Regions from separate parts of the Homo sapiens genome. Here all the other regions are linked to region 4. Evidence: promoter capture Hi-C in 16 types of primary human blood cells and fetal thymus (Javierre and others, 2016). All regions are on one chromosome and are shown on one strand. The core of a region is centred on a gene start or on the middle of the fragment in contact, and the rest is flanking DNA. Distances in the headings are between cores, read along the strand shown.

Evidence for each region. The method cuts DNA at HindIII sites, captures the fragments that hold promoters and counts their contacts. A CHiCAGO score of 5 or more calls a contact.
Region 1: a contact is called between a fragment that was not itself captured here and the fragment with the promoter of EIF1B in region 4, in 1 of 17 cell types (neutrophils). The highest score is 5.0, in neutrophils.
Region 2: a contact is called between a fragment that was not itself captured here and the fragment with the promoter of EIF1B in region 4, in 8 of 17 cell types (neutrophils, total CD8 T cells, activated CD4 T cells and 5 more). The highest score is 11.4, in neutrophils.
Region 3: a fragment that was not itself captured here is called in contact with the fragment with the promoter of EIF1B in region 4 in 1 of 17 cell types (total B cells); the score reaches 6.5 in total B cells.
Region 5: a fragment that was not itself captured here is called in contact with the fragment with the promoter of EIF1B in region 4 in 11 of 17 cell types (total CD8 T cells, total B cells, total CD4 T cells and 8 more); the score reaches 17.2 in total CD8 T cells.
Region 6: a contact is called between a fragment that was not itself captured here and the fragment with the promoter of EIF1B in region 4, in 1 of 17 cell types (activated CD4 T cells). The highest score is 8.7, in activated CD4 T cells.
Region 7: a fragment that was not itself captured here is called in contact with the fragment with the promoter of EIF1B in region 4 in 7 of 17 cell types (naive CD4 T cells, total CD8 T cells, activated CD4 T cells and 4 more); the score reaches 8.2 in naive CD4 T cells.

What each region holds. Positions count from the first base shown.
Region 1 is chr3:42,038,193-42,042,319 of GRCh38, forward strand. It overlaps a transcript of TRAK1 not described here. Among named protein-coding and RNA genes, the nearest start is that of TRAK1, 51 kb to the right of the region's middle. The HindIII fragment of the contact is 5,750 bases long and covers 1-4,127 here.
Region 2 is chr3:42,021,368-42,025,471 of GRCh38, forward strand. It overlaps a transcript of TRAK1 not described here. Among named protein-coding and RNA genes, the nearest start is that of ULK4, 61 kb to the left of the region's middle. RefSeq lists an enhancer at 2,971-3,889. The HindIII fragment of the contact is 5,804 bases long and covers 1-4,104 here.
Region 3 is chr3:42,060,700-42,064,823 of GRCh38, forward strand. It overlaps a transcript of TRAK1 not described here. Among named protein-coding and RNA genes, the nearest start is that of TRAK1, 29 kb to the right of the region's middle. RefSeq lists a silencer at 1,084-1,303. The HindIII fragment of the contact is 5,018 bases long and covers 1-3,979 here.
Region 4 is chr3:40,307,570-40,311,872 of GRCh38, forward strand. EIF1B (eukaryotic translation initiation factor 1B) reads left to right here and starts at 2,138. Exons shown (of 4, transcript NM_005875.3): 1 at 2,138-2,403; 2 at 3,324-3,487; 3 at 3,901-4,002. The coding sequence starts at 2,373. It overlaps EIF1B-AS1 (EIF1B antisense RNA 1), which reads right to left and starts at 2,129. Exons shown (of 3, transcript NR_033965.1): 1 at 1,754-2,129. It overlaps LOC124906228 (a long non-coding RNA gene), which reads right to left and starts at 1,242. Exons shown (of 2, transcript XR_007095876.1): 1 at 1-1,242. RefSeq lists an enhancer at 1,869-2,228 and a silencer at 2,499-2,548. The HindIII fragment of the contact is 2,965 bases long and covers 510-3,474 here.
Region 5 is chr3:42,079,429-42,083,411 of GRCh38, forward strand. It overlaps a transcript of TRAK1 not described here. Among named protein-coding and RNA genes, the nearest start is that of TRAK1, 9.9 kb to the right of the region's middle. The HindIII fragment of the contact is 181 bases long and covers 1,971-2,151 here.
Region 6 is chr3:41,909,559-41,913,532 of GRCh38, forward strand. It overlaps ULK4 (unc-51 like kinase 4), which reads right to left. Exons shown (of 37, transcript NM_017886.4): 9 at 3,249-3,341; 10 at 1,983-2,101; 11 at 1,759-1,828. Among named protein-coding and RNA genes, the nearest start is that of ULK4, 51 kb to the right of the region's middle. The HindIII fragment of the contact is 2,165 bases long and covers 1,131-3,295 here.
Region 7 is chr3:41,941,760-41,945,910 of GRCh38, forward strand. All of the region lies in intron 2 of ULK4 (unc-51 like kinase 4), which reads right to left. Among named protein-coding and RNA genes, the nearest start is that of ULK4, 18 kb to the right of the region's middle. The HindIII fragment of the contact is 6,777 bases long and covers 1-4,151 here.

The DNA.
Region 1 (4,127 bases), core at 810-3,309, 1.7 Mb after region 4:
CGTCCCAGAAGTTTACAGCATGGTGGTGGCTTTAAAATCTTTTAAATTCATCTCTTTTCTAGGTGCAAGGGTGTTGGGATAGGGTCAGGAATACTGAATTGAATTGAATTTCTCTAGCCCAAAATAGCAAGGAGATATTGGTGTTTTTTTGAGGCAGGTTCTCACTCCGTTGTCCAGGTTGGAGTGCAGTGGTGTGATCACAGCTTACTGTAACCTCAACCTCTCTGGCTCAAGTGATCCTCCCACCTCAGCTGGGACCACAGGTGTGTGCCACAACACCTGGCCGGTTATTTTTAAAAATTTTTTGTAGCGGCCAGGCACAGTGGCTCGCGCCTGTAATCCCAGCACTTTGGGAGGCCAAGGCGGGTGGATCACCTGAGCTCAGGAGTTCGAGACCAGCCTGGCCAACATGGTGAAATCCCATCTCTACTAAAAATACAAAAGAATTTGCCGGGCGTGGTGGCGGGCGCCTGTAATCCCAGCTACTTGGGAGGCTGAGGCAGGAGAATTGCTTGAATCCGGGAGGCAGAGGTTGCAGTGAGGTGAGATTGCGCCATTGCACGCCAGCCTGGGTGACAGAGTGAGACTTCATCTCAAAAAAAAAAAAAAAGTTTTTTTTTTTTTTTTTTTTGGTAGAGACAGTCTCCCTATGTTGCCCAGGTTGGTCTCAAACTCCTGGACTCAAGCAGTCTTCCTGCCTTGGCCTCCCGAAGTGTTGGGATTGATTTTTTAAAAATCAGCCTTGAGATTAATTCATATACCTTACAGTTCATCCAATTAGTGATTTTTAATATACCATAGGGTTGTACAACTGTGATCACAATATTATTTTAGAACATTTTATCCCACGTAAAACATAATCCCATTCTCATTAGCAGTCAATAGTCAATCCTCCCTCCCTCCATTTCCCAGCCCTAAGCAATCTCTAATCTGTTTTCTGTCCCTGGATATGCCTATTTTGGACATTTCATGTAAACGGAATCATATAATATGTGGTCTTTTGTGTTTGGCTTCTTTCACTTGGCATAGTGTTTTTAAGTGTTGCCCATGTTGTAGCATGTAGCAATTCTTCATTTCTGTTTATTTCCAAATATTAATCTGTCATATGGATATACCACATTTTATTTTCCATTCATCAGTTAGTTGATGGATGTTTGGGTTGTTTCCACTTATTATTTATTTATTTCTTGAAATGGAGTCTCGTTCTGTCACCCAGGCTGGAGTGCAATGGCGTGATCTCAGCTTACTGCAACTTCCGCCTCCTGGGATCAAGTGATTCTCCTGCCTCAGCCTTCCAAGTAGCTGGGACTGCAGGTGCACACCAACATGCCCAGCTAATTTTTGTATTTTTAGTAGAGACAGGGTTTCGCCATATTGGCCAGGCTGGTCTCAAACTCCTGACCTCAAGTGATCCTCCCACTTTGGCCTCCCAAAGTGTTGGGATTACAGGCGTGAGCCAATGTGCCAGCCAACCACTTATTATTTATTATCTTATAAATAATGCTGTGAACATTGCGTACAGGTTTTTGTGTGGATGTATAACATGTTTTCATTTTGCTAGAGTATATATCTAGGACAAAATTGTTGGTCATAGAGGGACTGCCAGACTGTTTTCCTATGTGTCTGCACCATTTTACATTTCCACCAGCAGTGTATTATGGTTTCATTCTCCCTAGATCCTTGCCAAAATTTGTTACTGTTCATATGTTTGATTATAGGCATCCTAGTGGGTATGAAGGGCTATCTCATTGTGGTTTTGCATTTCAGGACGGCTGATGATGTTGAGCATCTTTTCATGTGCTTATTGGCCATTTGTATATCTTTGGAGAAATGTCTATTCAGGTCCTTTGCCTATTTTTTTTTTAAATTGTGAGAGTTCTTTATATATTCTGGATACAAGTCCTTTATCAGATATAGGATTTGCATATATTTTCTTCCATGGATTGTCTTTCACTTTTTTGATGGTATCATTTACAGCACAACATTTTTAATTTTAATGAAGTCTTATTTATTTATTTTTGGTCACGTGTGCTTTTGGTGTCATATCTAAGAAATATCATTGCCTACCTTAAGGTCACCAAGAGTTGCTACTATTTATTTATTAATTAATTGATTAATTATATAACTGCTCCTTGCAGAGCAGGGCTAACTCATAGGCATTTTGCCCAGAGTTGGTCTATTACTCTTTTCTGTTCTAAGAATGTTATAGTTTTAGCTCTTATATTCAGGTTTGTGATACATTTTGAGTTAATTTTTGTGAGGGAGGGGTCCAACTTTGTTCTGTGAGGTGAAGGTACAACTTTATTGTTTTACATATGGATATCTGATTGTACTAGTACCATTCGTTGAAAAGACTGTTCTTTCCATATTGAGTTGCCTTATTGAAAATCAAATGACCATAAATGTAAGGGTTTATTTATCTGGGCTCTTATTTCTGGGCCCTTAGTTCTAGTTCACTGATCTGTATATCCTATGCCAGTACTACACCTTTTTTTTTTTTTTGAGACGGAGTCTCACTCTGTCACCCAGGCTAGAAGCGCAGTGGCACGGATCTCGGCTCACTGCAACCTCCACCTCCCAGGTTCAAGCAGTTCTCCTGCCTCAGCCTCCTGGGTAGCTAGGACTACAGGTGTGCACCACCATGCCTGGCTAATTTTTGTATTTTTAGTAGAGACGGGGTTTCACCATGTTGGCCAGGTTGATCTCGAACTCCTGACCTCAAGTGATCTGCCCGCCTTGGCCTCTCAAAGTGCTGGATTAGAGGTGTGAGCCACTGCGCCCAGCCACACTGTGTTGGTTACTGTAACTGTGTAGTAGGTTTTGAAATTAGACAGTGTGAGTCCTCCAACTTTGTTGTTGTTTTTTTTTTCCCCAAGATTATTTTGGCTATTCTAGTTTCCTTACATTTCCACATGAATTTTAAGACCAGCTAGTTAATTTATGCTTAAAAAAAAAAAAAAACGGCTGGGATTTTGGTAGGAGTTGCATTGAATCTGTAGATCAATTTCAGGAGTATTGACATCTTAACAATATTAAGCCTTCCAATACCTGATCATGGGATGTTTTCCCATTTATTTAGACATTTTTTCATTTCTTTCCACATTGTTTGTGGTTTTAGGTTTACAAATCTTTTACTTCTTTTGTTGAATTTATACCTAAGTATTTTATTCCTTTTGATGTTATTATAAATGGAATAATTTTCTTAATTTCATTTTTGGAATGTTTATTGCTAGTGTATAAAAATACGACTGATTTGGTATGTTGATCTTATATCTTGCAACCTTGCTGAATTTGTGTATTTGTTCTAATAGTTTTTTAGCGGGTTCCTTAGGACTTTCTATTTGTAAGATAATGTCATGTACAAATGGTGGTAGCTTTAATTCTTCCTCCTCAATATGAGGGCCCTTTTTTTTTTTTTCTAATTGCTCTGGCTAGAATTTCCAGTACGATGTTGAATAGGAGTCGTAAGAGTGGATGCCCTCCTGATCATAGGGGCAAAATATTGAATCTTTCACTGTTAAGTTTGATATTAGCAGTGGGTCTTTGATAGATACACTGTATTGGGTTGAGGAAGTTCCCTTCTATTTCTATTGTTTTTTTTTTTCTTTTCTTTTCTTTTTGAGACGGAGTCTCGCTCTGCCGCCCAGGCTGGAGTGCAGTGGCGCGATCTTGGCTCACCGCAGCCTCCGCCTCCCGGGTTCAAGCGATTCTCCTGCCTTAGCCTCCTGAGTCTGGGATTGCAGGCACGTGTCACCACACCCAGCTACTTTTGTATTTTTAGTAGAGACAAGGTTTTTCCATGTTGGTCAGGCTGGTCTTGAACTCCCAACCTCAGGTGATCCGCTTGCCTCGGCCTCCCAAAGTGCTGGAATTACAGGCATGAGCCACTGTGCCTAGGTAATTTTTGTATTTTCAGTAGTGACGGGGTTTCGCCATGTTGGCCAGGCTGGTCTCAAACTCCTGACTTCAGGTGATCCTCCCACCTTGACCTCCCAAAGTGCTGGGATTACAGGCGTGAGCCATCGAGCTCGGCCTGTTTCTAGTTTGTTGAATGTTTTTATCATGAAAGGGTGTTGAATTTTGTCAAATCCTTTTTCTGCATCTATTGAGATGGTCATATATGTTGT
Region 2 (4,104 bases), core at 1,327-3,826, 1.7 Mb after region 4:
CCTGAGTGGGAAGTAGCTTTGTTTTCATTCATTAATTAAAAAGTAAAAACCTTCAGATTGAACAGTGTAGATACAATGCAGCACAGCATTGATGTGTTTGAAGCCATGTTCTTTTTTCCCCTGTAAGATTGTTGCTTAGGTGTGTTGAACCCAGCAACTCCTGTTTATGACAGGCAGCTTCGGAATCATTACCTTATATGATAACCTCATACAGTTATTATTTTTTTGAAATGGAGTCTCACTCTGTTGCCCAGGCTGAAATGCAGTGGCACGATCTTGCCTCCCTTCAACCTCCGTCTCCCTGGTTCAAGCAATTCTCCTGCGTCAGCCTCCTAAGTAGCTGGGATTACAGGTGTGTGCCACCACACCTGGCTAATTTTTGTATTTTTAGTAGAGACGGGTTTTACTGTGTTGGCCAGACTGGTCTCGAACTCCTGGTCAGTTATCCACCTGCCTCGGCCTCCCAAAGTGCTGGGATTCTATAGGTGTGAGCCACTGCGCCTGGCCCTCATACAGTTATTAAGAGGATTATGTGAATTTATACATGTGCTTGGCTAAGAGGAAGCATTTGTGTTAGCCATAATTATTGTTTTTACTGAACTCCTTATGATCCATTCATCCAAAAATAGTTTGGAACAGGTATTCTGTGCCACACCTCAAGGGTGGGGTGTGCCCTGGACTTGCTCTGTATGACAGTAACAGGAATAGCCCCCATGGCCTAAAGCATTGATGTGAGCTGTGGTTTTTGCTCACCCATCAACTAGCTTCTCTGCTTTGACTTTGAGGAGAAAGGGTTAATTTTTCAGTGGTCCCAAGGCATTAGAAGAATTGCTTTGGATTCGAATATCAAGACATTCCAAAGGTCTCTTGTGGAAGAAACATAGTTTGGTGTTATATATTTGGGAAAACATCTTTCTATTTGAGAAAACAAGCAGATTGTTATTATTACAGCAGTGGATAAAAGGTGTGACAGGCAAATCATTGGTAAAATAGACTAAAACGTTGACTGCTGCAGTAGATGTTTTATACTGTATTTGAAAGATAGGAAAGTAGTTAGTCTTGTTAAATAACTGGCCGGGTGTAGCAGCTCACGCCTGTAATGCCAGCACTTTGGGAGGCCAAGGCGGGTGGATTGCTTTAGCCCAAGAGTTGGAGACCAGCCTGGGCAATATGGTGAAACCCCATCTCTACAAAACGTACTAAAATTAGCTGGGCATGGTGGTGTGCCCCAGTAGTCCCAGCTGTCTGGGAAGTTGAAGCAGAAGGATCGCTTGAGCCCAGGAGGCAGAGGTTGCAGTGAGCCATGATTACACCATTGTACTCCGGCCTAGGCAATGGAAAGAGACCCTGTTTTAAAAAAAAAAAAACAAAAACAAAAAACTTTTGTACAAGAGGAATATTTTCACAACAATTGAGTGTTAACTTGCAAAACTTTTAGCTGGGGTAAGTCTCTTGATGGTATAGTAGAAGTGATACTCATGGAAAGGAATAAAGAAAATAAATATTCCTGGCCAGGCGCAGTGGCTCACACCTGTAATCCCAGCACTTTGGGAGGCTGAGGCTGGCGGATCACGAGGTCAGGAGTTGGAGACGATCCTGGCTAACACGGTGAAACCCTGTCTCCACTAAAAATACAAAAAATTAGCTGGACGTGGTGGTGGGCACCTGTAGTCCCAGCTACTCAGGAGGCTGAGGCAGGAGAATGGCGTGAACACGGGAGGCAGAGGTTGCAGTGAGCCGAGATTGCGCCACTACACTCCAGCCTGGGCGACAGAGCGAGACTGCATCTCAAAAAAAAAAAAAAAAACAACAAAAAGAAAATAAATATTCCTGGGAGTTTGGCTATCTTTTAATGTAGTTTTTGTTCTTTATAGTATACTGAATTCTCTGTTTGGCAAAAGGCAGCATGGCAGATTGATCATCACAAGCAAGTTTGAGAATTTCCCTCACAAACTCAAGTTGCATCCACATTAGGTCACTAGGGCGGAAAAGAGATGCAGTCTGTAGATGTTCCAAAGAGAAGGCCCATGGCAGGGTTGGGTGGCATTAGGAGTGGTGGCTGGCTTTACTTTGGTAAACGTGTCCTAGGCCGTATGTGATCCTAGACCTTATCTTACCTCCATGATGACTGAGACCCAGCTGGAAGCTCTGGCTGTACTCAAGGTGAGAGAGGGTGGGGGTTAGCGAGTGATAGTGTGGGTAGATGTTTAAGAGATAAGCCTTTGTTGTTGAAGAGATAGTGGTAGGGTAAGGGAGGGGGCGGAGTGAAGGATAAGGCTGAGGTTTCTGAGTTGGACCACCATTAATCAGTTGTCCCAGCGGTGAGGACCTGGAGGGTCTTGTTTTGAATGTGCTGAGTTTGACGTGCTCGTGAGGGTTTTTTTTTTTTTTTTTTTTTTTTTTTGAGACGGAATCTCACTCTATTGTCCAGGCTGGAGTGCAGTGGCACAGTCTTGGCTCACTGCAGCCTCCGTCTCCCGGGTTCAAGCAATTCTCCTGCCTCAGCCTCCCGAGTATCTGGGGATTACAGGCGCCTGCCACCACGCCTGGCTAATTTTTATATTTTTAGTAGGGATGGGGTTTCGCCATGTTGGCCAGGCTGGTCTCGAATTCCTGACCTCAGGTGATTCGCCCTCCTTGGCCCCCCAAAGTGCTGGGATTACAGGCGTGAGCCACCGTGACCGGCTACTCCTGAGATTTCTAAGTGGAGATGTTTAGGGCAGTGGGACGTCTGGGCCTGACACTTCGAAGAGGGATAGGAGTTTGAGGCAAGGGTTTGGGGACCATTCCTGTGTAGTGATATCCATGTGTAGGAGAACTCACAGAGGAGTAGTGACTAGAGATTGGGAGAAGACCAGAATTGCTGGGGGAGGGAGTGTTCTTTTGGTGAAGGGTAGGGTTCACAGGGTTACTCTGCTGTGAGAGGCCAAGTGAGATAGAAGCTAAAATATCTTTTGGGTTTGTTTATACATAGTAGGTATGCAGATATTTCTAGTTGTATCATTTGGTTCTTTGTTTTTCAGAAGAGATGCTGGCTTAGCCTTGTAAACATCGCAGTTGCATAAAAGTATTTATGATAGTCCTTAAAATGCTGTAATTATCTTTGAAGTTTTATAATTTTGCAGTGTTTAACTTATGGCAGCAATAGCATTGGTATTTTAAATCAAAACAGAACACTGTCAAGGGTTACATAACTTATTCATGATATTAACAAGATATAAAGCACCATGTTTTTGTGTGTAACTGTTTAACAGTAGATGAAGTTAATGATTGCCCACTTTCAGCTAATCATATGATTGCTATTGAAATAAGTACTTGCTAGACAGGGATAGAATCTAGTAATTTGTTAGCTTCAGTACTTCATGCTTGCATACACACCCATGCTATTGTGTTACCAAGCCTGAGTTTTGAAATGTGGCGTTCTTTGTCTTTTTCTGGTGAATAAACCCCATACGTCTTACCATAGCCATTTGACTCTTCCTGGCTGTCAGGATGTGTTGCCCTGGACTGAGAGTGAGAGATCCCAGATTTTTCAGCTTCTCTTCCAATTGCTAGGGATACCACATCAGTGCCAACGTGAGTCTCCTCTTGTCACTTTCTGCTAGGCTTCCCCTTAGAAGCTGAAATTCTTTCCCTTCCTGATGCTAAGTTGCAGTTTCTTAAAATGCTAGAGAGCTTTTAAAAGCATACCGTGATGGGAATTAGTTTCAAAAGATTATACCAGAGGGGGTTAAAACTTGCCAACCTTGTAAAAACCTAACTTCTTTGTTTACGTCCTCCCTGCCCCGCTTTCTGCTGTGCTTGGTTTCCTCCTAGCAATATGCCTTGGTCAGGGGGAGAGTCTTCCTGTCAGACATAACTTCCCAGACCAGCACTCCTGGAGGGGCCTGTACCTCAGACCCTGGCAACGAGGCACGCTGGGGCACGCTGGCCTTTCGTTGTGGTGTAGAAAATTTTTCATTTGGAATTCCATTTTAAAAATAAGTATAGGGTTATTTATATCTTCTTACATTAATTTTGATAAGTTGTGTATTTTAAGGGCTTTATCCACTTTATCTAAGCTACTGAATTAATTGGCACAATTATTACTCTTTCAATGTCCAT
Region 3 (4,124 bases), core at 221-2,720, 1.8 Mb after region 4:
GCACTGCAACCTCCGCCTTCCTGGTTCAAGTCATTCTCCTGCCTCAGCCTCCTGAGTAACTGGGATTGCATGTGCCCGCCACCACTCCTGGCTGATTTTTTTTATATTTTTAGTAGAAACGGAGTTTCGCCATGTTGGCCAGGCTGGTCTCGAACTCCTGACCTCAGTTGATCTGCTCACCTTGGCCGCCTAAAATGCTGGGATTACAGGCATGAGCCACCGCGCCCGGCCTTTTTTGTTGTTGTTGTTTGTTTGTTTTGCAGTTTTTTGGGGATCTCATCAGGTTCATTTAGGGCTAAATAAACTGACCCTCCAAGGGACTTAATGACTTATGCTGAAGGACCCTGTGAAAACCTAAATGGTATGCTTCAGGCCTGGAAGCTGACTTAAAAGTGCATTTTAAAAAGTTCTTTGTTATGGTATAATTTTAGATTTATAGAAAAGTTACAAAAAGTGTGCAGAGTTCCCATACACCCTTGACCCAGCTTCCTCTAATGTTAACATCTTACGTAACCATTGACCTTAAGTTTTCAAGTGATGGGTGTGTGTCTACATCTGTGCATGCGTGCATGCACACACCCACCCACACACGCACCCCCCCATGCACACCTCCCCCACGCACACCCCCCCATGCACACCCCACCCCCCCACGCACACCCACACACACACACACAGTGCCAGGGAGGCAGCCCTGTTGTCTGTCAGCCTTTTCATAGCTCATCATATTTACACCTCCTGGATACAGAGTGGACCCTGGCCATGGCAAAAGCAGGCAAGGAGCTACTTTGAAGCTGAAGTTCCAAAGCAGGAGATACGGGGAAAACAATCAGCTGCTACAGAGCTCTGAATATCATGTGAACCCAGTGCCACTTGAACTTTATTTAGTAGAAGATTGGCCTGAGACACTTAATATAGAAATCCCAGCCATCATGTGAGAATTCCATTCCGTGCAAGTACAAATACAAGAGAATTTGGGAATGTTCACTTTGGCTTGTGTTATGCTAAGTCATCTCACTTCTTTCCCATCTAATTTATGAATCAGAACACCAACAATATATACCAGTTTATTAACTAATGAATCAGGAGCAACAAGCCCATCCATCTACCCATCTGCATGGATTTGAGCTTTATTCAGTAGTACTTTGCCTTGGAAATGGTCCAGGTTATTTTGGAAACGGATATTCAATTCAAATGATGACAGCCATTGGCACTCACTCTGGGGCTCAGGAGGGAAACCACGCCCTTCTAGGCTATTGCTGACGCCATCCCTCCAGAATGCAGCTGTCTCGGGTGGAGGCTCTGGGACAGCTGCTTCTGGCTAAGGCTGCCCATTTGGGAGAAGGGGACATTGAAATTGCAAGAGGAGTCATGGCTGAGAGAGATCCTGCTCATATGTGTGGCAGGAATCCTACAGCAGACAAGATTTTGACAATGGACAAGTCACTCACCTTCTAACATGTCCACTTTCCTGTGGATGAAGTGGAATTTTCCAAAAGCAGGAGTACAGTGCTGCCTGTTACTCTTGTGAAACTCTCAATCTCTTGGTGAACTACTGGTATTATAAAGGAGTGCCGTATTAGCGGAGGTGCAAACAAAATGCTTCAGTGCTTTTGATTCCTTTGGCTAAGGATAGGTCTTAATTTTGAATATTTTTTTTCCTACTAGGGCCAATTTCAAAAAAAATCAAGTTTGCATTCACATGTTTAATAATTCCAGTTATACTTTTAGCATTAAAAAATATGCTTGTCTTGGAGACTATTTTTTAACATTTCAGAATCTACAAAACCAGCTTAAATACAGCATGACTATACTGCTACCCCTCTGAAAAACTTTGTATTTGAGTCCTGGCACCTCTGAGGCTTCTTCATGTTGGTGGTTTTTATTTTCCTTTTCACTGACCATGCATGCTACTCTGTGTGAAATAGGGTTTGTGAAATAGGTTGTGTCAGCGCTATCTGTATGCCTTAAAACAAAGTATTATGCTGTTGAGAAAAAGCAAAACAAGGATAGGTCTTTAACAAAGACTATTTAGGCTGCTGCTGCCTAATATAATTCTCATCAGTGAAGTCTTCACTTTGTTGGAAAACAGTGCCTGACACTCCCTTGTGTCCTGCCTGGTGGGACTTCCCTACAGCCCCTTGAGCTGTTTTCCAGGCTCTGCACTGCAGTGAAGGCGTGTTTGTCTTATGAGGGGATGTGCACTGCACTTTCACCTGTATTACCTCACTCCCCAGAGCCACCTTAGGAGATGGATGACATTATCCCTGTTTTTGAGATATGGAGGACGTGCTTCAGAAATTTTAAGAAACTCAAACAAGGTCACACTGGTAGTGAGTAGTAAAGTCAGAATTCCAGGCCTGGTTTTCCAGTACCAAATCCAGTGCTTATTCTCACAGACCATGGGTCAAATCCATCCCACCGCCTGCTGTTATAAATAAAGTTTTATTGGAATACAGCCACACCCATTCATTTCCATATTTTCTGACTGCCTTCCAGCTACAACTGCGGAATTGCAACGGAGACTGTATTGCCCTCAAGGCCTGAAATAGTTATTATTTTCCGCTTCGCGGGAAAAGTTTGCCAAGCCCTGCCCTAAGCCATTGCTGAAGGAGCATCCGGGTTTTGTCTGTCAGTACATTCCCCACTGCCCCTGCCCAACCAGGAATGCCTTTGTGATGCAGTTCTTGCTCTTTTGTAAAGGTGGGGCTGGGTGTGGTGGCTTGTGCCTGTAATCCCAGCACTTTGGGAGGCTGAGGCGGGCAAATCAGTTGAGATCAGGAGTTTGAGACCAGCCTAGACAACATGGCAAAACCCTGTCTCTACAAAAATTACAAAAACTAGCCAGGCCTGGTGGGACACGCCTGTAGCCCCGTCTCCTTGGGAGGCTGAGGTGGGATGATTGCTTGAGCCTGGGAGACAGAGGTTGCAGTGAGCTGAGATTGTGCCACTGCATTCCAGCCTTGGTGACAGAGTGAGACTCTGTCTCCAAAAAAAAAAAAAAAAGTGGTGGGAGCCACACAGTGAAAAAAGCATATGTGCCGGGGCAGCCCAGCTGTGCCTTATTGTCTGCTCTCTGGCCCTGTGGTGGGCTGAAAGTTCTTACCATACTCCCATCCAGATGTAGAGTCTGTAACCTTTCCCCTTGAATCTGCGTTGGCCCGGTGATGTATTTTGACCAATAGTTTGCGGTAGAAGTGACACTGTGTAACTTTTAAAATTGAGTCTAAAGAGATCTGTAATTTCTGTCTCATACTTTGAACACCCCTTCTTGGGATCCAGCCAGCATGTGAGAAGCCCTGGTGGCCATGTGGAAATTATATCCACGTGAGAGAGAGGCCCAGTCATCCCTTTCAGAGCACTAGAGATGGGAGGGAACCCATTTTACATGCCCAGCCCTTATTACTATCTGACCTGAGGGAGATCACAAATGCCTTCTGTATTGGGTGGTAATGATACATCACAAAAATGCGAATGCTCGCAGCCAGGCGGGCGCTGTGGCTCAAGCCTGTAATCCCAGCACATTTCAAGCCTAGGTGGGTGGATCCCTTGAGCCCAGGGGTTTGAGACCAGCCTGGGCAACGTAGCAAGACCCTGTCTCTACCAAAAATACAAAAATTAGCCAGTCTTATAACCCGGTCTCAAATGAATAAATAAATAGAGGGATACAAATTAAAAAAAAAAACCTTTAAAAAGAATTCTCTTACAGTCTGATGTCAATGTTGGAAGATTAAGAAATAAAATAAATTTTTGAACTTGCTGTCTGAGTTACCCAAATGTAATTTCTAAGAACTCTAAAATATTATCACCTAGAATCTAGGAAGCTACCATGTGATCCTAGACTAATAGCATAGAATGAATGTTGCTTCATTATGAACTTATTATGGAAATACAAATACATAATAAATACTTTAAGCAGACTATAGACTGTTTCCTAAAATACTGAAGTTAAAATATTTGTGCTAGACTTCCTGATATGAAAAGCTTTTCTCATAATGATTTGTGAATTAATTTTACCATAGAATAGTAAGGGTATATTTTTAATGGGTTAAGTAGCTATACTTAAAAAATACATGCCAGGCATGGTGGCTCACACCTGTAATCCCAGCACTTTGGGAGGCCGAGGC
Region 4 (4,303 bases), core at 888-3,387:
GACAGGGGTAATGACCATGAAACCCTAAGATTTCTGGAATTTTTCTTTTAATTTCTCTGTGTTTGTAGTTTTTTCTTCACTGGATCACCTTTGGCTTCTTCTGAGAAATAAAGTAATATAAAATACTCATGTACATCTACTAAGAAAGAAAGGAAACAAATAGAGATGCATTATCTAGATTACAAATTATTTAGAAATTAGAGTGTTAGAGTATTAACATAGGGCACAAAATTGAACTAATAAAATTACTTTAAAGCACACTTATTTAGATATTTTGATGCTCCTTGTTTTGGAGCCAGCTCTAAACTTTACACCTCAATTTGGGATACGAAGAGTGTTTTCCATTTGAACCAGAGCTGGAAGACCACAAATGTGGTTAGATTTCTGAGAGTTAAGAATTTGATTTTTTTTTCAGGCATTAACCTACAAAAGCCTTCATTTCCACACCTGGTGCATAGAGTAATGCTTACCTTATAAAATAGCTATGAAGATTAATAATGTTATATATAAGCTTTGTAACAGGCAAACAGTAAGTACTAAATAAATGGCACTTATCATCATTGTTAATTACAAAAGATTGTCAAATCCAGGTATTCTTAACCTGCGGTCTGCAGATCCTTGGCTCATGGATAAAACTGCAGGGGTGGAGATCCCTAAAATTGGATGGGGAAAGATTATATCTGCATTTTCATTAACCTCTAAGCAAAATTTACCATTTCTTTCCATTATGAATAAAGGCAACATCATAGTGATAGAAGGACCTGTCACTTCGCACCAACAGAAGTTACACATACTTTCATATTAAATTTCTGATGTTACGGACATCACAAAATATCTCTTACATTTATCAGCTTTTTGAAATTATAGTATTAGACCTAATCTTGCTAGATCTTATTAGTGTATTAATAAAGAAATACACGTTATTAATGTATTTTTTAAATTTCAATATAATTGGTTTCCTTTGTAATCCTATGTACTTTGTGAACTTAAAACTTAACTTCTCATTATTCTGAGAAGGGATTCAGCAGCTTCACAGGATTGCCATGGCACACACAAAAAAGTTAAGAATCCCTAAATTTTAGTCTATCTCTTTGCTTCCAGAAAGCCAACCAAGTTTGACAATTGAACACACCTGCCTGAGTGAGCCAATTCCCAAAGTCTCGGGTTTATTTTTCTGTGCGTGACCTGATAGGAAGATATTACGGTCTGGTACATGACTCCATCAATTAACCTATTTGCTGAGCTCACCTTCAGCTTATACCTGGCATCTTTCCTGAATTCTCTGTTGGGCCTTCTGAGGCACACAAAATGAGCTGACAAGCTGATTTTCTGGTATCTTCTGTTCATACACACCTGGCCCCCACTCGATGCCAGGCCCAGGATTAAGCTGGGCAGTGATTCTCAAGCCTGATCCCAGACCAGCAGGCAGGATCAGCATCACCAAGGAGCTTATGAGAATTGCAGATTTTCAGGTCACACCCTAGACTTCCTGAAACAGAAACTCTGGGGTCTATCAGTGTTTTCTCAAGCCCTCCAGAGACACACGCTTTAGTCTGAGATCCACCGTGCTAGGGAATCGGAGGTCCGTCCAATCCTGGAAAGAGAGGCTCCCATCTCCAGTATTGGTTGAGACTAACACCGCTCCTGCAACTGGGGTTGGAATTTCAATGCAGGTAGTTGCTGAGCGGGGGCCAATGAGTTGAAAGCCGGAGCAAGGGGACTTGTTTTGTTCCTGCACCCCGATTTTACTTACATTACCCGGGGCCTCGAGGGTGACTCATAGAGATTAGCCCTGAGCGTCGACCCCTCGGCGCCGCCACTGCACAGCGAGAGAAGGGGAGTCAAGAGAGACGCTTGAGTCCCTTGACTGTCCTCCCCTACGAGCTCTCTGGGAAGAGAGCCCCAGACCTGCGAACTCTGGGCCGCTCTGCGGCCGCTTGAACACTTCGCGGGTCTTCCGCCCCGCGCTAGAGGACGCACTCCGTGACGGGAATTGCGGTCTCGGCCGCCCCCGGCCTCAGGCTTTCCGGGCTCTGCTGCCTCCAGAAAACTACAAGTCCCAGGATGCTCGGCGCGGGACGGTCACGTGGGAGGGGCCGCGGGCGCGGCTAAATAGTCTCCATCGGCCATTTTGTGCGAGAAGCCGCAGCGCCGCCTCTTCTCTCGCGCCCTCGCCTCTTCCTCCGCCTCCTCCTTCGCCTCTTCCTGCCTCCTCCCGGCTTCCGCCGCCGCCACTCCAGCCTAATCCCAACCCCAGGGCGAAGCGTTTTCTTATTTATTTCCGTTTTCTCGCCACTACAGCCTCCTGACAAGGTGATCCGGGCGGGCCCCGCAGGAATTTTATCCCCTCACCGGCCTCACACTAGTATCGCATGTCCACTATCCAGAACCTCCAATCTTTCGGTAAGATCCCGTCGCCGCCGCCTCCCTCCCTTGCCCGGCGCGCATCTCGGCCTTTTGCCCGCCTGGCCACCGCCCCTAGGGGCCCCCTTTCTGCCCTTCCCGCACCCCTAGTGGGGCTTTGTCTCGGCGCCCAGAAAATGGCGACGGGGCCCCTGGCGACCCCTTCCCCGAGGACAGCGCCGGACTCCGAGCCCTCCTCTCGGAGCCCCGGCCGCGGGCCCTGCGCCACCCCCTGCCCCGTCCTTGACCCGGCTCTCGCCTCCGCTTCTGCCCCTTGAAACCTTGGCGATCCTATTTCGTGGACTCCTAGATCGGCCCTGCTACTTGCAAAGGGTATGCCGGGCCAGGGAAACCAGGGATCGGCGCCCGTTCTCTGGCAGCTCCTGGGGGCACTTAGGGAAAGATGCGGATGCAAGCCTCTGATCTGTCACTGGCCAGTGGTTCAGTCTTCTCTGCTTGCGTAGCAATTTGTTAAATTACGCCTCTTGATATATATGTAATCTACTTTTTTTTTGGCAAGGCACAGTTACGGTTAAATGATTAAGGTGGGCGTATTCGAATGTTTATGTTTTCATCAGAATGTAATCGAGATGACGCACATTTTTATAGCGGCTACAATATTAAGGTTTTCTAAATCTTTTTCTCATTAGAGGACCATATTGAACGATAACATTATTTATCTATAACAGCGTTTTTCTACAATGGACATAGCTGTTCAAATGTTTCTCTTTTTGTGAGAGTATCTTGGGGGTTTTATTAATACTCCACCCCCATCTCCATTCCTACCGGCAAAAACAGCAAAGGCACTAGAACCTTCATTGATGACTGTCTGGATTGGTAGTATAATGTATTTCTGGAAAGTACTTCTTAAAAAATATTTTTCTACTTTGGATTTTTTTTTTTTTTTTATCCATTCGCAGACCCCTTTGCTGATGCAACTAAGGGTGACGACTTACTCCCGGCAGGGACTGAGGATTACATTCATATAAGAATCCAGCAACGGAACGGCAGAAAGACACTGACTACTGTTCAGGGCATTGCAGATGATTATGACAAAAAGAAACTTGTGAAAGCTTTCAAAAAGGTAAAGGGATTAGGAAGAAAGGATTAGAGTTACTGATGCACACCTCTGAACTGGATTATGATTCACACCTTTATATCGGCGTGGATGAAAATAACTAGACCAAGAAAGTTGTTCTCATTTTTGTAATTAACATGTAAATATTTAGTTATTCTCCCAGTGTGGTCTCTCATTTTAAAAGAAGATTCGCGTTGCTTTTAAATAAATTTAAATGTGAAATATTTAGTTCTTGATGTTACACATAAAATCATTTCCTGGTTTACAAATTAATTTGGAAGGATTGTGGATTATAGGAGACAAAATCTGTTTCTCTAAATATGATCTAGCTTACTGAAATGGCTAATTCTGTTCATACGGTGAAATAAAACCTCATAGTAGTTGACTAAATTTTGTTGTATATTTATGCACTTTTCCAGAAATTTGCCTGTAATGGTACTGTGATTGAACATCCTGAATACGGAGAGGTTATTCAGCTTCAAGGTGACCAAAGAAAAAACATCTGCCAGTTTCTCTTGGAGGTGAGTGATTGGGTGCTTTATGTGTAACCTTGAGATTGCTTTTAAAATTGTATTTAAAGGCAACATGATTTGTTTTCTACTAAGTAAAAAATCATACGAATGAAGGAAATTAGGTGAAATAAAGACATGGTAGTTATTTGGAAAGCAAAGACCTTTATCTGGTTTATTTTGTCATTAGAGTATTCTGATCATTTCTTTATATACACACACAGGCTATTTCTTGGCATGTAAAGTATTCAAATACGTGTTGAATTGTTGGCTATCAGCAGTGCATGCCACAGACAACAGTGTTGCAGTAAGC
Region 5 (3,983 bases), core at 811-3,310, 1.8 Mb after region 4:
ATTTTCTCCTTACAATCTCTGAGTTTGTCGTGAAGGAAGCTCCTTCTTCTTTTTTTTTTTTTTTTGTTTTGAGATAGAGTCTTGCTGTCTTGCCCAGGCTGGAGTACAATGGTGCAGTCTCGGCTTACTGCAACCTCTGCCTTCGGGTTCAAGCAATTCTCCTGCCTCAACCTCCCGAGTAGCTGGGACTACAGGCGCTCACCACCATGCCTGGCAATTTTTTTGTATCTTTAGTAGAGATGGGGTTTTGCCATGTAGGTCAGGCTGGTCTCAAACTCCTGACCTCAGGTGATCCGCCCTCCTCGGCCTCCTAAAGTGCTAGGATTACAGGCGTGAGCCACTGCGCCCTGCTGGAAGCTCCTTTTTTTTTGTTGTTTTTTTAACCCCTTGCAAAATCAGTGATTTATTGTTTACAAAGGGCAGCTCTGTCTGCTCGTGATCTCCTACTGGAAGTTACCTGTGTGTGGGTGAGAATAGTTTCACAATCATTGCACCAGGGAGTGGAGAAGGACTTACCAGGGTGCACAAATCCTTCTGCATTTCCACCTGCCCTCTTTTGTACTTCCTGGAGTGGTATAGCTGGAAGGCAGTGTGTTGAAGGTTGCTCGATCCCTTCCTTGTCCAGATGAGGGGTCTGAGGCCCAGGGACATAACACAGTTTCCTCAGTGTCACACAGCTTTGAGTTTTAGTTAAGGTTCTGAGTCACAGAAATGACATCGGTTGAGGGTAGCGGGGAGAAAATATTAGGAACTTGCACACGTGTATTTTGTCAGCAAATTTGAGTTCAGTAGCAAACTGGCATAACGTTGAACAACCGTGCGTTAAGTACTCTTGACAAACTGGGGGCCGGAATTGTTGATCATTGAGTTGAGAAGAGTGGGGCAGGGGACCTGGGCCACCCACCCCAGGCTCAGCTTCCATGTATACTTTATCCTACTACTATTCCTGGCACCTCTTTTGCTGAAAAATTGACCTGGTTGCAGAATTTCTCACTCCTCTGCTAAGAAAAATCCTGCCTTCCTGCAGCTCTCTAGGCAGAATTCAGTAAACTAAACAGAGGCGCTTTCATCTCTCAGGGCCATGCCATCCACTCTCACTTTTCTTAAGCCTTGTTTGTTTCCTCTGCCTGAAAGAAGCCTTTTGCCTGGTGTGCCAGGGTTTGCTGGAGCCAGAGAACATCCAGGGCAGTGGATGCTTTGTTCCTGAGCCCCTGTGAAACCTCAGAAATGCCTGTTTACATTAGAGTGAAGTTAGGCTGGCACCTTGGGGAAAGATTGTCACCTTTGCCCTACAAATTCCTGGGTGTCCCCAGAGGGCACATGCTGTGACTCATTCTTCAAGCTAGAAAGTGGGTGGAGGCCTTACAAACCAGCTTTTGAGTAGTCTGTAAATGAGGTCTCCTGATCCTTGAATTGTATCTGGGTCATTTTACATGTTTGACTATTAAACTACTCTTTTTTTTTGAGATAGGATCTCACTGTGTCACCCAGGCTGGGGTGGAGTGGCACAATCATGGCTCTCTACAGCCTCAACTTCCTGGGTTCAGGTGGTCCTCCCACCTCAACCTCCCTAGTAGCAGGGACCACAGACACATGCCACCAATCCTGGTCAATTTTTTGTATTTTTTTGTAGAGTTAGGGTTCCACCATGTTGCCCAGGCTGCTCTTGAACTCCTGGGCTCAGGCCATCCACCCGCCTGGGCCTCCCAAAGTGCTAGGATTATGGTGTGAGCCACTGGGCCTGGCCACTGTGAGCCACATTTGATGTATATTGGTCTGTGTTGAAAATGAAGTAAGGTTAAACTCGAGCCAGCCTAGAGAGCCCATGGGCTGTGGTCTGCATACTTGGAACACTTAGGAGTCCCTCAGGTGGTTTTCATTGATTTCTGTTAGTCCTCAAGGTTAGCAGTGTGAAATTTGGGAGTTTAGACCCTTTGGTTCCAGTATAAATGATAGAACCTGGGCTTTAAAGCTTCAGGGGATCCTCAGAGTCATTTGCACCAAACCCCTTCTTTCATTTGTTGTTATTTATTCTACAGACATTTACTTAGTACCTAATATGTGCCAACACCGGTCCATGCTTTCAAGGAGCACACAATTTTTTGGGGGAGATCAGCCCTGGACAAATGGTGGTCAATGGACAATGCATGAAGCTTGTGTCTGAGATAGAGAGGCATTCCCCAAAATGTACTCCATGAAACAAATGCCATGTAGATAGGTATGTGGAGAAAGGATCCATAGTAAAGTAGGTTTGGAAATGCTGGCATATGAATACTATAGTAGAACCAAGAAAGGTGCCAGATTCTGAGAATCTGGAAATTATAATGTTAATGACAGTAATTATTTTGAGAATCTAATTTGTACTAGACACAGAGGTAAGTGCCTTATATGGATAAGTGCCTTACATTTTACAGAATTCAGTAGTTTGGATGTGCCATAATTTATAACTGTTTTTCTACGAATAGAAATTTGGTTGTTTTCCACTTGAATTTACTGGGTGAAAGCTTAGTTTTGTCATTTCAAGAGGGGCCTCTCAGGCTTCTGAATAGCTTTGCCAGTTGCTGTACATGTAAAATGTTCTTTGGATTTCAGAACTGTGGCTTGTGTTTCCCTTTTGAGTCTTGAGTGAGGTGAGCATTTGCTGATGTCTCCAAATTTTGTTTTTTTCAGGAAGTGCTTATACTTAAAATATTTCTTTTGTAGCAGTATGTTTCTGGGTTAAGTGTCTGGCAGCTATAAATGGAAACATCGATACTAGGAGGAGAAACAGTAGTGATTTAGGGCTATTGATCATGATTTAGGCCATCTCCCTCATTTTATAGGTAGTGAAAGCGAAAGTTATATAAAGCTTGGTTGTAAAACCTCTTTAAGAAATCTTCACATATTAGGGCCAGGCCTGGCAGCTCACGCCTGTAATCCCAGCACCTTGGGAGGCTGAGGTGGGTGGATCACTTGAGGCCAGGAGTTTGAGACCAGCCTGGCCAACATGGTGAAACCCCGTCTTTATCAAAAATAAAAAATTAGCCTAGCGTAGTGGTGCGTGCCTGTAGTCTCAGCTACTTGGGAGACTGAGGCAGAATTGCTTGAACCTAGGAGGCCAAGGCTTCAGTGAGCCGAGATCGCGCCACTGCACTCCAGCCTGGGAGACAGAGCACAAAACCTGTCTCAAAAAACAAACAAACAAACAAACAAAAACCAGAGAAATCTTTACATATTAGAGCCTTTGTTAAAAAAAAAAACACAAAAAACCAAAATCATATTGATTTAAATGAAACTGTCTTAGTTTTCAGAAGAACAATTGCATTTTGCAAAGTGAGAAAGTATTTCCAACTTCTGTGTATGGATCAGATAGAATATGTCTAAGTACAAGTTAAAGAAGGCTTGAATGAGGGTTCAATTTGTTAATGCATTTTAAAACCTTTTCAAGACCACATTCATCATCTACTGTTTTTCTGCCTACAGCATCTTTCTATGTTGATACATTAATATCTGTTGTGATGCTTCCTCTTGGCTTGGTTGACTTGTTGATAGCTGTCGCATAATTAATGACTCGATCCTCTGTTGTGGCTTGTTAGGTTGTAGCATTTCACTGTGCCATACATCTTTGACCTATATATACTTGAGCCCGAGAGCTACAGTAAATTTTGTCAGGCTGTTCTTCCAAATGTATACTCCTCGCCTTATTCCAGTAATACATAAGACTATAAGTTTCCTAAATCACTTGTGAACTTGAGCATCGTTATATTTTTTAAATCTTTGTTGTTGTTTTTTTAAAATCACTGTGAAGTTTCCTTAAACTGGGTGTGTATGTGTGTTGTGTTTTGGCAGGGGGAGGGAATTTTTATATCCTTTGCCCATTTTTCTTTTGGGCTATCTGCTTTAGGTCTGTGAATGAAGTGCATTATTTACATGTTGATTTTAAGTGTTCCCGGTTTAATTTCCCTGCCAGTTTTACTTTACCATGTCTTCCTCACCTTTTGAGT
Region 6 (3,974 bases), core at 963-3,462, 1.6 Mb after region 4:
AAAAAAATTAGCCAAGCTTGGTGGCACAGGCCTGTAATCCCAACCACTTGGGAGGCTGAGACATGAGAATCGCTTGAACCAGGGAGGTGGAGGCTGCAGTAGGCCGAGATCATGCCACTGCACTCCAGCCTGGGCGACAGAGCAAGAGTCTGTCTCAAAAAATATATAAATAAATAAATAATAAATAAAATGTGTAAAATGTATATAGATAAACATACATTACATTTAAATATGGGTAAAACATATCAGGAATTTTATCATTATAACCACTATTTCATGAAATAAAACTATTTCTCTACGTTAAAAAATATTTTAAATACTTTAAATATTTACATACTACTAAATTTTTTTTTTTGAGACGGTGTTTCGCTCTTGTCCCCCAGGCTGGAGCGCGATGGCGCGATCTCAGCTCATTGCAACCTCCACCACCCGGGTTCAAGTGATCCTCCTGCCTCAGCCTCCTAAGTAGCTGGGATTACAGACACCCACCAGCACGTCCAGCTAATTTTTTTTTCTTAGCAGAGACGGGTTTTCGCCATGTTGTCCAGGCTTGTCTCAGTCTCCTGACCTCAGGTGATCCGCCTGCCTTGGCCTCCCAAAGTGCTGGGATTACAGGCGTGAGCTACTGAGCCCGGTCCATACTACAAAATTTTTTAATGCATTGGTCCTAATTACTTTAAGATACCACTCTGACTTTAATTCTTTCAGTGATTACAAACATTATTCAAGCCTCACATATAGAAAAGTATTAAAAGAAAGGCTGGGCACTGTGGCTCATGTGTGTAATCGCAGCACTCTGGGAGGCCTGGTGGATCACCTAAGGTCAGGAGTTCAAGACAAGCCTGGCCAACATGGCAAAATCCTGTCTCTACTAAAAATACAAAAATTAGCCAGGCGAGGTGGTGGGCCCCTGTAGTCCCAGCTACTCTCGGGAGGCTGAGGCAGGAGAATTGCCTGAACCTGGGAGGTGGAGGCTGCAGTGAGCCAAGATCGCACCACTGCACTCTAGCCTGGACAACAGAACAAGACTCCATCTCAAAAAAATAAAATAAAAATAAATGAAAGAATAAAAAAGTATTTAAAGAAAAACAGAACCTCTTCTTTTCTGTAAGTATTTATCCAAATAAAGAAGCTTTTGCCTTCAAAGCATTAACAACAACAACAAAAACTGGGTGCATTGGCAGGCAGATGGCTCAAACCCAGGAGTTTGAGACCAGCCTGAGCAACACGGCAAAACACCATCTCTACAAAAAAATTAGCCAGGCATGGTGGCACACACCTGTAGTCATAGCTACTTGAGAGGCTAAAGTGGCAAGATCACTTGAATCCAGGAGGCAGAGGTTACAATGAACCAAAATCACGCCACTGCACTCCAGCCTGGGCAATAGACGGAGATCTTGTCTCAAAAACAAAACAAACCAAACAAGCTGGACTTCTGAAATTTTAAGTTCAATTCTATTTTAAGTTAAAGAACAAAATGAAGAGGCATTAATTCTTACAAATGGAAATAATGAGTTGCTTTGGTAAAAAAATAAGTTGGTTTGGTTAAAAATTTTCAAAAATCCTGTACATAGCAAAATCTACATTTCACTGGCCACGACCTAACTGTAACTTTGAAATTGGAGAGTGAAACTGGCATTTGGCACTAAAATTCCTGTTCTTTATCTCTGTGTAACAAAGTTTGCACCAAGATAGCAGATGCTTTAAGAAAATTTAACTTTTGTCTTGCACTGATCCCTCTTTTTTCATTTTACCTACCTGAGAAGAAACATGGATTCATTCAATTGACCCTCAAGAGTACTCTTAGGCCGAAACTCAGTTGGATTTTCTGTAGCAGGAAAGTAATATGTTATCCAGAAAAGAACAAAAATATCATATGCAAGGCATAACGTACACAAAGATTTAAAGGGACATAACACTGAAATTAGGAACTCTCTCAAACAACATTCTAAGTAGCATGAATGTGCTCAAATAAAACTTACCTAGTCTGAAAGAGTGACCTAGTGGTTGACCACTCTTGTGCCCTTTTGCTTGTCTACTCTGAGAGTTCTGCAAAAGCTCCTTGGAATCTTGTGGCCCAGAACACTCCATAGTGTTTCTGCTATTATTGGAGAAAACCAACACAATCAAACTTACTTTGGAGTTCTCTATAGTTTTATGTTAGAGAAAAAGAGGTTGGAGAAGATAATTAAATTACACATGACATTTAGCAAAGTTACAGAATCTCTTAACTTTATGCCTCCCTCATCCACATAGCCATCAAAGACCGGCAGGAAAGCTACGTCACTGTAGTCCCTCAAGATCCAGGCTAAGGCCAGGCGTGGTGGTACACACCTGTAATCCCCGCACTTTGGGAGGCCGAGGCAGACGGATCACTTGAACTCAGGAGTTTGAGACCAGCCTGGGCAACATAGTGAGACCTTGTCTCTACTTTTTTGTTTTTAACAATTTTTTTTAATTTAAAAAAAAAAAAGATCCAGGCTGACAGACCAGGCATGGTGGCTCACGCCTATAATCCTAACACTTTGGGAGGCCACAGCGGGCAAATCGCTTGAGGCCAGGAGTTTGAAACCAGCCTGGGCAACATGGTGAAACCCTGTCTCTACTAAAAATACAATAAATAGCTGAGTGTAGTGGCACACACCTATAGTCTCAGCTACCCAGGAATCTGAGGTAGGAGGATCACCTGAGCCCAGGGAGGTCAAGGCTGCAATGCACCATGATTGTACCACTACACTCCTGCCTAGGTGACAGAGTGAGACGTTGTCTCAAAAAAAAAAAAAAAAAAAAATCCAGGTTGGAACTCCATTTTGACATTTTTCTTCCCAATTACCTCATCATGTAGTAAATTACCACTGCTCTTCAACTTTGCATCTGGGAATAACACACATTGCTTTTACTAACATTTTGTTACCAGAAACAAGTCACATGACCACACCTAACATAAAGAGGAGAAAAAAGATCCTACCATTTACTTGGGAGGTGGGAAGCCAGATGTATTTGGTAACAGAACTAATGACTATCATATTATATCAATGACTGAAGAATAACAACAGAAAATATGCAAAATCAAGAACATAAAAATATCATGAGTAAACTCCTCAAGCAACCCTTAATTAAACAAACGCTGGATTTTCTCCTACTACGAAAGCAGAGAAATTCCAGTCATTGATGTTGTATATTTAGAACAGTAATGGGCTTAAGTGTCCAGTAACTATGTCCCATACACAAAGGTAAGTGTATACTACCTGAGACTGAGATCTTCGACGCTTGATTCCTGATCTGCTCCAGCAAAAGCTTTCTTCCAAAATGAATGCTGCAGTAGCCTTGTCCAAGTCAATCTTTAAAAAACATAAATGTTAAAACTCTACTTTAACATGATTTACCATGAAAAATTCCCAAGACATGTCCCAATTACACATAGCAGATTTTACAAGGTACACATGTACCTTTGAAATCATTTTATATTTTATTATTTCATTTTTGTATGCTATTAACCTCTTTTAGACAGCAAGATAAAAAGAAACAATTCAGAAGCATTAAATGGTACAGAATGAAACAGTCTGATAACTAAGCATTAGAAGTTTCAGGGTTCAAATTCCATAGAGTCTGGTTTCTCCAACCAGCCTAGGAAAAACGGAGTCGATAAATAATTTGAAATTCTTTTTTTTTTTTTTTTTTTTTTGAGACGGAGGCTGGCTCTGTCACCCAGGCTGGAGTGCAGTGGCGCGATCTCGGCTCACTGCAAACTCTGCCTCCCGGGTTCACGCCATTCTCCTGCCTCAGCCTCCCGAGTGGCTGGGACTACAGGCGTCCGCCACCACGCCTGGATAATTTTTTGTATTTTTAGTAGAGACGGGATTTCACCGTGTTATCCAGGGTGGTCTCGATCTCCTCACCTCGTGATCCACCCGCCTCCGCCTCCCAAAGTGCTGGGATTACTGGCGTGAGCCACCGTGCTCAGCGTAATTTGA
Region 7 (4,151 bases), core at 453-2,952, 1.6 Mb after region 4:
AAAAAAAAAAAAAAAAAAAAGAGAAAGAAACTGTAAAACTAATAAGCCACCAAAGAATAAGGAAGACCACCTGGTGACCATGTTTAAGGACTCCCACTGATTCAGGCACAGGAAGGGGGAGGTCCTGATGAAAAATAAAGGGAGCATGGCAATTCCAACAGAATCACCAACAGAATCTGGGCCCCAGCAATTCCTTCCAGCACTCCTCATCATTCAACATACGCCCCACGCCTACTCTTCCAAATGCTGGGCCAAACTGCCTCTCAAAGTCCTGCCCTCCACCTTCACCTCAACCACCTATCCACGGTTACTCCACAGACCTGCGGTGTTCAATGTGGGAGCGATGTGCCACACAGGGCTACTGAGAACTCGAAAAGTGGCTTGTCTGAACTGGGATGTGCTACAGATGTGAAATACACACAGTATTCTGAAGACTTCATACCAAAAAATAATAATATCTCAATAATAGTTTTTACCAGCCAGGTGCAGTGGCTAACACCTGTAAACCCAACACTTTGGGAGGCCAAGGTGGGCGTATGACTTGAGGTCAGAAGTTTAAGACCAGCCTGGCCAACATGATGAAACCCTATCTCTATAAAAAATACAAAAATTAGGCAGGCATGGTGGTGCATGCCTGAAATTCCAGGAACTCAGGGGTCTGAGGCAGCAGAATCACTTGAACCCAGAAGGCAGAGGTTGCAGTGAGCCTAGATCACGCCATTGCACTCCAGCCTGGGTGGCAGATTAAGACTTCATCTCAAAAAAATAAATAAATAGGCCGGGCGCGGTGGCTCACGCCTGTAATGCCAGCACTTTGGGAGGCCAAGGCAGGTGGATCACCTGAGGTCAGGAGTTCAAAACCAGCCTGACCAACATGGAGAAACCCCATCTCTACTAAAACTACAAAATTAGCTGGGCATGGAGGCGCATGCCTGTAACCCCAGCTACTCAGGAGGCTGAGGCAGGAGAATCGCTTGAACCCGGGAGGTGAGGCTGCAGTGAGCCAAGATGGTGCCATTGCACTCCAGTCTGGGCAACAAGAGTGAAACTCCATCTCAAAAAATAAATTAATTAATTTCATTAAATTAAATAAATAAATAGTTTTAACCAATTATATGTTGAAGTGATCATACATTGTGTATACTGGCTTTAGAAATATATTACCAAAGTTAGGCTGGGCACGGTGGCTCAGGCCTGTAATCCCAGCACTTTGGGAGGCCGAGGCGGGTGGATCACGAGGTAAGGAGATCAAGACCATCCTGGCTAATATGGTGAAACCCCATCTCTACTAAAAATACAAAAAATTAGCCGGGCATGGTGGTGGGCACCTGTAGTCCCAGCTACTCGGGAGGCTGAGGCAGCAGAATGGCGTGAACCCGGCAGGCGGAGCTTGCAGTGAGCCAAGATCGTGCCACCGCACTCCAGCCTGGGCGACAGAGCGAGACTCCATCTCAAAAAAAAAAAAAAAAGAAAGAAATATATTACCAAAGTTAATTTCACCCATTTGTTTTTCATTTTTCAATGTGGCTACTAAAAAATTCAAAATTAGATTTGTGGCCCCCATTATATTTTTATTAGATGGTGTTGCTAGACTTTTACTAAAACTGCATTACCACCAAAATCTCTGTTACACATCCTAGCCTGTGACCATATACACGCACTTTCCAGCCCGCTCCCACAACCATTCCAATTCTGGTTAAACTCAACCAACCCTCCACATACTCTGCAGCTACTCAAGCAGGTAAAGCAGAAACAAACCATGCTGCCTGATTTACTTTAAATTTATGATCACAAATCTCAAATGGCCCAAGACAACCTGCTTTTCAAGTGACCATTCACACCTCCTCTTTCCTCTCCTCTCCTACCTCCTAACTGATGACTTTGCTTATTTCAGGGAAGATAGAACCAAACAGAAGAGAACTTTCTCAGGCTCCTGGCATGGAATCCACCAACTTGCATCTTGTACCATACCCTGCCTTACCTCAACTATCCATGCTCCTTCCAAAAGCCAAAACCTCCCCTTGTATACATGATCCCAACCCCCCTCAAACTTCACTTACATTATACAACTGTCTCCTCGCCACATTATGCTGAGTATTTTTCCCTTGCTAATAGACCATTTCCATCAGCATACAAACATGCTGAAATTATTATCCTTATGGAAAAGCTGCTAGCTGCTTACCTAAATCTTTAATAACAGAATTCCTCTATGACAGAACAGCCTTGTGCCTGTCCAGAAAAAGATTTCCGCCCCTCCTGCCCAGAAAGGGGACACCAACAAGATGTTAACAGGGTCAGTAGCTCAGGTTTCCTGGAAAACACTTAATGGGGTTTATTCAACGTAACCCCGTGGCACCCTCTTTCTTCCCCTTCCTCCCTGGAAAGCTGACATGATAACTAAAGTGACAGTGGCCATCCAGCAACTGTGAAATGGCCTTGCACATAAGCCAAGTTCAATAAGGATAGCAGAGAAGAATGACAGGGAATTGATGACATGGTAGAATCAGTTTGCAAGTGCAGTTTCCTTTACATGAGAGAAAATAAACCACCTGCTTTAAGACGTGTAATTTCACGGGAGGATGAGGCAGGAGAATTGCCTGAATCCAAGAGGTGGAGGTTGCAGTGAGCTGAAATCATGCCACTGTACTCCAGTCTGGGCTACAGAGTGAGATCCTGTCTAAAAAAACGTAATTTCAGATGTCAGGAGTCAGAAGTAACTCCTGATAATTCTTTCCATCTCAACCTCCTGTCTCCATCCAGTTATCATCCCATTTCTCTGCTCCTTGATACAGCAAAACTCCTTAAGGATGGCCTCTACCTTCTCCCACTCCCTCTTTTTATAAGAAGTGTACTTATTTATTTTTGTAGAGATAGGGTCTTGCTATGTTGCCCAGGCTGGTTTCAAACTCCTGGCCTCAAGCAATCCTCCCACCTCAGCCTCCCAAAACACCAGGATTACAGGAATGAGCCAGTAAGCCCGGCTCACTCCCCCTTAAACATATTTCAGTTCCAGCTTTCATCCCCACCACTTTCTGAAACCACTCTCTTCAAGGTTATCAGTGGCCTCTCCATTGCCAAATCCTCAGTCCTCACCTTATTAGCAGCATCTCACACAAGTGGTTTCTCTCATCACCATATACCACTGACGTTATTTGACCTCTATGACATCCCATGATTTGGCCAATATTTTTAGTTACAGAGAACAGAATATATTCTGGCTAACAAAAGGACTTCTAAGGGGCCTACATAATTCCAGAATTGATTATGGGAAGTTCCTGAAACAGAATCTAGGCTCAATTTCTGGAAAGAATTCCCAAAACCACACCATAAAACTGAGCCGCCAGAGGAGCACTGGCCCCTGTCTCCATCAGAACATTAAGGAATCAAGACTCTGCCATCACAGCTATCACAGCTGTCAGCACCAAAGTGCTGCCTCTGCCACCAGTAGGAAGCCACCACATCCAAACCATACTGCCTCTGCCTCAAGATGTGCCGGCAAATGGATGGATGCCTTGGGGCCTTTACCACTTACATCAGTTTGGAATCCAAATGTCCTTCTAGTGCATCTAATTAATTTAATCACAATCCCACCTAGAACTCTGGCTGCAAAGAGTCTGGGAATTGCAGTTTGTAGCTCCCCAGAGCCTGAGGAACAGGAGAACATGCCAGAATGGGTGATAAGCAAACCAATTCACAGTTACCCACACTCTCCAGCTCCCCTCTCTCACTGGATGCTCCCTTTCACTCTCCTTTGCTGGGTCCTCCTTCTCCTTACACTTGCTAAATGTTGCAATGAAGGTCCTCAGTCCTCTTCTATCTTCCCTCACGTTGGCCTAATGTCTATATGCTGATGACATATGAATTTGACATATAAAGATACACAGCATTTCCATCCCTCCAGAAAGCACTTTGTGCCCATTTCCAGATGTCTTCCTTAAATTTACATCTCCACCCTGATGAACTGCCTAAACTGCAGACTCAAAGACCCAGTGTCTTCCAGTGGGCACCCAAAATTAAAATGCCCGAATCCATTCTTTTCCTAGTCTTTTTTCCCTCAGTGTTATCACCATCCTTCTTAGTCATGTAGGCCAAAACCCTAGGATAATCATTGACTTCTCTTTCACACCTCATACCCAATCCATGACCAAAAA